2 separate regions of the Homo sapiens genome follow, and region 2 is linked to region 1. Evidence: promoter capture Hi-C in 16 types of primary human blood cells and fetal thymus (Javierre and others, 2016). All regions are on one chromosome and are shown on one strand. The core of a region is centred on a gene start or on the middle of the fragment in contact, and the rest is flanking DNA. Distances in the headings are between cores, read along the strand shown.

Region 1 (3,386 bases), core at 279-2,778:
TACTAAGTTTCAAACACGAAGAATCTAAAATGAACTCGGGGCACATATGAAGTTACTATTAAAACTATTTTGTTAGTCTTTTCAATGCAGACGTATCACTTGCTTGGATTCATGTGGCAAAATCCTATTTCCCATGTTTTCAAGTAGGCAAAAAGATTGCCTTATCAAGAGCCCTAGCACAAAGCACCAGTTTCAACAATAGTGATGCTGTGGAAATTGGCCTAAGTGGGGTCAAAACTCCCAAGAAATGCTTTACCTGGGATCCACAGACCAGAAACTTGCAATTTTCTAGAAATTGTATACTAGATTTTGTGTGTATTTTCTCAGGTCAGAGTCCAGAACTTTCATCAGATTCTCAAAAGAGTTCAACCAAAAACGGTGAATAAGAACTGCTCCCAAAAAGTTGGAAAGACTAGCTTCTTAGGGACACAGTGAAAGCGAATGTGGTCACAGCCAGGCCACCTGAGTTGAAACCCAGGTGTCCTGACCCCTAGGTTTATGCTCTGAAGGCCCAATACTTACTCTTAATTCTTCAAAGGCTTCGTCTAGGGTGGAGAGTTGGTGGCCCTGGTGAGCCCCAATGACTGGACACAGGACACAGATGAGCTGCCTATCTTCCTGGCAATAGGTACTCAAATCAAGCCCATGGTCCGGACACTTCCTCTTGGCCACTCTCTCTGCTTCCATTTCTATTTCTGGGTCAAATTCACTTTCTGCCTCAGTTTCTCCCTCCGCCTCGGATTCCCCTTCTTCTTGGTTGTCTTCTTCGGCCTCGCTTTCTTGCTCATCCTCCATTTCTTCCTCGCTGTCTTCTTCACTCTCCTCATCGCTCTCATCCTCACTCTCTTCCTCTGTCTCGCTCTCTTCCTCTGACTCGCTCTCTTCCTCCGACTCACTCTCTTCCCCTGCCTCGCTTTCTATCTCCCTCTCCTGCTCCACCTTGACCTCCGCTTCTTCCTTCCCCGCCCCCTCTCCGTCAGCTGGCGGGGTCCAGGCCTGGGAGCCGTGGACGTATTCGGCCAGATGGTGACTGAGGAACTTCTGCCTGTGCGCCTCGGCATGGCGGCGGCAGTAGCAGAAGCCGCATTCTCGGCACACTTCCTCGGCCCCCGGAGCCTCGTCGGGCTCGCACTCGTCACACGTGCCGTCGTGAGGCAGTTCCTCGAAGGCCGCGCCCACTCCAGAGGCCATGTGGGTGCTGTGACGCGGCCAAGGCCTCGGGGCCCCGGGGCTCGCCGCCTTCCTTCCGCGCGGCCTCACTTCCTCCTCCCGCCCCGGGTCCCTTCCTAGGGAGTCGCCTCCCGCCTGGACCGCGCCGCGTCTCGAAGCGGGACCTGGGGCCGCGGCAGCCCCTGCCCGGGCGCAGCAGCAAAGACCCTTTCCGCCGGCTCGGCCTGCTCCGCTCTGTCCCTGCGCTTCCTCTGCCGCGCAAGGCACTTCCGGCGCGGCCACCCGGCGCCCCCGTCGGCCCCCGCGTCGCGCCGCCCGCTCAGCCTCCCGCTACCAGGGAGAGATCGCGGCAGCCGCCGGCCCCCGCGCCGCCCCGGTTCCACTTTCCCTTTCCCCGTCAGGAGGCCTCCTTTTACTTCCTGAGTCATTTAAAGTGGCAATGACCCTTTTCTGCTTTTCCCGCGGGGCTCAGCTCCTCCGCTCCAAATCTCAGCGTGCCTTGGAGGAGGAGGAGGGAGAAGGAGGATGGAGGAAGTCTCTTACTCTCTCCAGAAGCAGGAATTGGGCTCCACCTCCCCCATTCCCTCCCTGGAAGTGTCAACTTGAGTTTTCACGGCCACTAGGCTGGTGTCCCTGTGCATTTCAGTCTCTCTTGTGCCAATTTGTCGCCGCCCGTCACAGTCCCCAGTGTTCTGCAAGGTGCCCGGACAGTGTTGTTTACCAGACTGAACCTGACCTCTTGGGATTTCCTGAGTGCGGAAGGGCTATGTTTGTTCTAGGCTAGGGGAATTGGAGTTAGGATGAGCAAACAAATATTTTCGATCCAAAGCAATACTGTGCTTTGTCTATTTGCATTGCTACCTCCTAGGATCTCAGAATTTCTGGGGTGGTAACCTCTGTGCGGTTTTCTGAGAGCTGCCTTCGGTTGGGCAGAGACGTCAGGTGAAGTGAGGTGGGGAGAGGCAGTATTTGTCGAGTGACAGGTCCAGGTTGCAGTCATTTTCCTTTATGTAAGGTGTCCCTCTAGATTCCCACTGGGCTCTAAGAGAAAAGAAGGGAACTGTTGTTTATAAAGCAGTACTGTAGTGCCAAGAACCCGGCTACATCTTTTTGTGGCTCTTTAAAAGCCGGTTTTGGAAGATCCTCTGCCCGATGGTCCCCAAATCCTGGTGCCACTACCTATCAGTTTTATGACCATGGACAAGTTAATTCATCATTCTGTTTTCCGCTTTTTAAAAAAGATGTTAAGTGAAAAGAACGGTAAATATCTACCTCATGGGGTAGTTTTGTGGATTAAATGTAACGATGCCTGCACTGTAGAGTATTCACTAAGCTTTCATTATTATTTTTGGCACAAATTATATTTAGTGCTCACAATGCCCCTTTGAAGGAACATATTTTACACACACAGGGCATTTTCGGCTGGCTGCTGGTAATGTAGGCAAGTCTCCACCTCTACCCCATATCCATGTCTCTCCATTCACAGAAGAGTTTTTGTTTTGCACTGTATTTGGGAGAGGGAAAATTACGTTTTTATCTAGTCAAGGGAGAGGCTGAGGTGTATTAAGAAGGATGAAAGGGGATGGAATGGTGTCTGTTTTACATTGATTCCCTTAGATGATTTTGAGTTAGAATTTCCAGATGCTTTCCTCAAACATACCAGGGGATGAGGTGGGGTAAAAAAACCTTTTTAATAGTTTTTAATGTCTCCATGGATAATGTATGCCTAATCTTTGTGCAGCTTTTGTTAGATATTTATTTTTTAGAAACCTTTCTTTTTAACCTCAGAACAATTCTATACAATGTTGAAAAAAATCAGGTTTATTTTGTTCCAATTCCATACACATTTCTGTTTTCCCCCAGCTCATTTCTCTGGAAATTATTTCTGTGTCTGCTTTTGAAACATGAATTGAAGCACCATTCTGAAAAAAAAAATTCAACAAATGTCAACTCAAACATCAACGTTAATATACCTAATGAGAAGTGTGCCTTGCTTGGTTATTTCTACTCCTGTCCTCCCCCAGGCTTAAAAGGAAACAACTTAGCCTTTACAAACATAACGTTCTCACATTTAGAAAGTCTTTTATTCAATGAAAATAATTTTTATTTTTTTTATTTATTTTTTTTTTTGGTGACAGGGTCTCTCTCTGTTGCCCAGGCAGGAGTGCAGTGGTTCAATCACAGTTCACTGCAGCCTCAGCCTCTTGGGCTCAAGC
Region 2 (3,386 bases), core at 230-2,729, 3.1 Mb after region 1:
GCCCGCCTCGGCGTCCCAAAGTGCTGGGATTAAAGGCGTGAGCCACCGCGCCCGGCCCGGCATTTTGATCTTTAGCACAAAATTACTTTTCCCTACCCTGCTTATGCTAACTACAGATTCACCACCTCCCACTCCGAATGTGGCTGCATTTGACGGACGGAAGCAGACATCATTCCTCATCAGTCTAAAAGTACTATGTCGTCAGAAATGAGTCCCGACGCCGACCAGGGAGCTGGCGGTGAAGCGTCGGGCCCCGCGCTGGGACCGCCGGCCGGCGAGCTGGTGCGAATCGAGGCCAGGAACGCGCGCCCCAGCCACCGGCCTCCCCATTCTCGCGTGTAGAACAGCTGCGGGTGTCAGCCCCGGCCGCCCGGCCCAGGCTCGGCAGCGGTCCCTTGCGCTACTAGGACATCCCCCACCCCACCGTGGCGGCACCCGTAGACCGAAGCACACCTGATCTTCTTCACTGATGTCGATGAAGGCCGGGACGCTCATGGTGCAGGCCCGGGCACAGCGGACACTCCACTCGCAAGACCACGCCGACCGGAAAAGGGAACTGGGCCGCGCGACGCTGCTGGCGCAACTGCTTCCGGGTCACCCTGAGCGGCGACCTGTTGGGGCGGGGCCTTGAGAGCCAATCCTATCGCGCGCTCTCGCCGCGGAATGCAGCAGGGCGTGGCAGACGCGCTCGGGCTGGCCTAGTGGGTGGGACTTACTGGGCCTCCACTCAGCGACGCTTGTCGCGGCCTCCAGTTTTCAGGCCCGTGTAGCTAACTGCATTGATGTTGCCTCCCGCTGGCGCCTCCCTAAGTCCACCTTCCCTTGAAATGTTAAGCTTGTTGGGTCTTACCAAGTATGGATGGGTTTGTGTAGACCTGAAACTCTCCTGTACTGCTGTTGGGAACATAAAATGGTGCAGTCACTTTGCAGAGGAGCGGCAGTTTCTGAAAAAGTTCAGTATCCACCCAGCATATGACCCAGCTATTCTTCTACCCAAACTGTATGTCCGTACAAAGACTTGTACAAGAATGTTCATTGCCGCTTTTAAAAAATAGCAGCTTTGGCTGGGCGCAGTGGATCTCACGCCTGTAATCCCAGCACTGTGGGAGGCCGAGGTGGGCGGATCACTTGGGGTCAGGAACTGGAGACCAGCCTGGGCAACATGGCAAAACCCCGTCTCTACTAAAAATACAAAAATTACCGGGGCATAGTGGTGCGCGCCTGTAATCCCAGCTACTCGGGAGGCTGAGGCAGGAGAATCACTTCAACCTGGGAGAAGGAGGTTGCAGTAAGCCCAGATCATGCCACTGCATTCCAGCCTGGGCGACAGAGCGAGACTCCGTCTCATAAAATAAATACACAATTCAGTAGTTTTTAGTATTTTCAGAGTTGCACAACCATCACTACTATTTAATTTTAGAACATTTTCATCACCTACAAAAGAAACTACCCATCAGCAATCACTCCCCAGACCCCCGGCCCCACCTCTCTCCAGCCCCTGGCAAACACTACATTTTGTCTCTATGAATTTGCCTTTTCTGGACATTTCATGTAAGTGGAATCACAAAATACACGGTGGCCTAAGTCAGACTTACTTCATTTAGCATAATGTTTTCAAGGTTCGTCCATGTATCCCTCCTATATTCCTATTTATTGCTTATAATATTGCATTGTTATGGATATACCACATTGTGTTGATTTGTTCATCAGTTGGTGGACACTTGGGTTGTCTCCATTTTTTGGCTATTATGAATAATGTTTCCATGAACGTTAGTGCACAAGATTTTGTGTGTACGTATATTTCTCTTAGGTATGTACCTATGAGAGGAATCAGTGGCTTATTTAGTAAATTTATGTTTAGCTTTTTCAGGAGACAGTTTCCAAAAAGTTAACACTTTATTTTCAATAGCCAAAAAAAAGGAAACAACCCAAATGTTCATCAATAGATGAATGAAGTGGATCAAAAAATTGTTATACATCTGCTTAATGGAATACTGCTGTGCAACAAAAAAGGATGAATTATTGATACATGCAAAAACACAGATGAATCTTTTTTTTTTTTCAGTCTCTTCAGCCTGGGTGACAAAGTGAGTGAGACTCCATCTCTTAAAATAAAAGCTTGATTTTTTTTCTTTAGTTGACAATCCCAAAATAATTCAAAATAATTTTGTTCAGTTAATCATCATACTGTATGATTCCATTTATATAAAACTCTAGAAAGTAGAAACTATAATGACAGCATTATAGATTGCTGTTGCCTGGGGGCAGGGATTGGGTAAGGCGGGGGGAAAGATGGATACAGAGGGGCTTGAGGAAGTTTTTGGGGGTTATGGATGTGTTCATTATTTTGACTGTGATTGTGTCATGATTGTATACATATATAACATTTTTCAAAGTGTGCAGTTCAAAAATGTGCAGTTTATTGATACCACAATTATACTTCAATATAAAATAAATGCCAAGCAAAGGAAAAAAACAAGGTTGAGGGGATAGAGGACACAAAACATCTGGCTAGACTAAATTTGAAAGGATTCATTCTTGCATGGAATAGCCTTAACAATGTGGAAAGTGAAACTGAAGGCAGGGAACCTGTGTCATGTTCACCCTGCATTTCCGCACCCACCTCAGTGCCCAGCCCACAGCAGATCATCAGGAAATACCAGTTGATTCTGAAGGAATAATCCCTGGGCTCCTCCCCTCGCCTTATTATTGCAAAGTTCGAGGAATACAAACTCAACAATACAATACCATTTTATCAAATATTTAAAAGACTTGTCTCTTTTTTACTATTGTTATTTTTTTTTTCATTCTGTGATCCTTGTGAAGTAAAAGAACACCCAGGGAAATTCTTGAGAGAGGATATGGACAGTTATTTAAAACTTTAAACTTTCATTCATTCAAAATAAACACACACACACACACACACACACACACACACACACACACACGATGGAGGTGTGGTAGGCCCGAGTAGTCTTGGGAAATGCAACATTTGAGTAGGAAATGCGGAAATGCCTGTCCTCAGTTATTTAAAACTTTAAACTTTCATTCATTCAAAATAAACACACACACACACACACACACACACACACAGGATGGAGGTGTGGTAGGCCCGAGTAGTCTTGGGAAATGCAACATTTGAGTAGGAAATGCCTGTCCTCACCTAGGTCAGGATGAATCTTGTGAGACAAAGTAGCAAACCTAAGAAGGAATGTTTGCTCATTCTGTTTGCCAGAGAATTTCGCAAAGCCCCTGACTCAGTGAGTGAGGGCAACCCTCTGGAAGAATACCCTAAAGATAAACAGGATAGAGCACAGGTCCCCATTCTCTTGCCTGAATCACTGCAGTTTTAGAAAACATAAGTTCAATGATCCTAGCCTCTGCCT

What was found. Contacts are between HindIII fragments. The CHiCAGO score rates a contact against its expected background, and 5 or more counts as called.
Region 2: a fragment that was not itself captured here is called in contact with the fragment with the promoter of TRIM44 in region 1 in 1 of 17 cell types (non-activated CD4 T cells); the score reaches 5.9 in non-activated CD4 T cells.

What each region holds. Positions count from the first base shown.
Region 1 is chr11:35,660,917-35,664,302 of GRCh38, reverse strand. TRIM44 (tripartite motif containing 44) reads right to left here and starts at 1,528. Exons shown (of 5, transcript NM_017583.6): 1 at 523-1,528. The coding sequence starts at 1,191. RefSeq lists enhancers at 840-1,340, 1,552-1,871 and a silencer at 1,132-1,511. The HindIII fragment of the contact is 12,326 bases long and covers 1-2,505 here.
Region 2 is chr11:32,580,997-32,584,382 of GRCh38, reverse strand. EIF3M (eukaryotic translation initiation factor 3 subunit M) reads right to left here and starts at 552. Exons shown (of 11, transcript NM_006360.6): 1 at 454-552. The coding sequence starts at 495. RefSeq lists enhancers at 397-546, 189-841 and a silencer at 707-766. The HindIII fragment of the contact is 1,283 bases long and covers 838-2,120 here.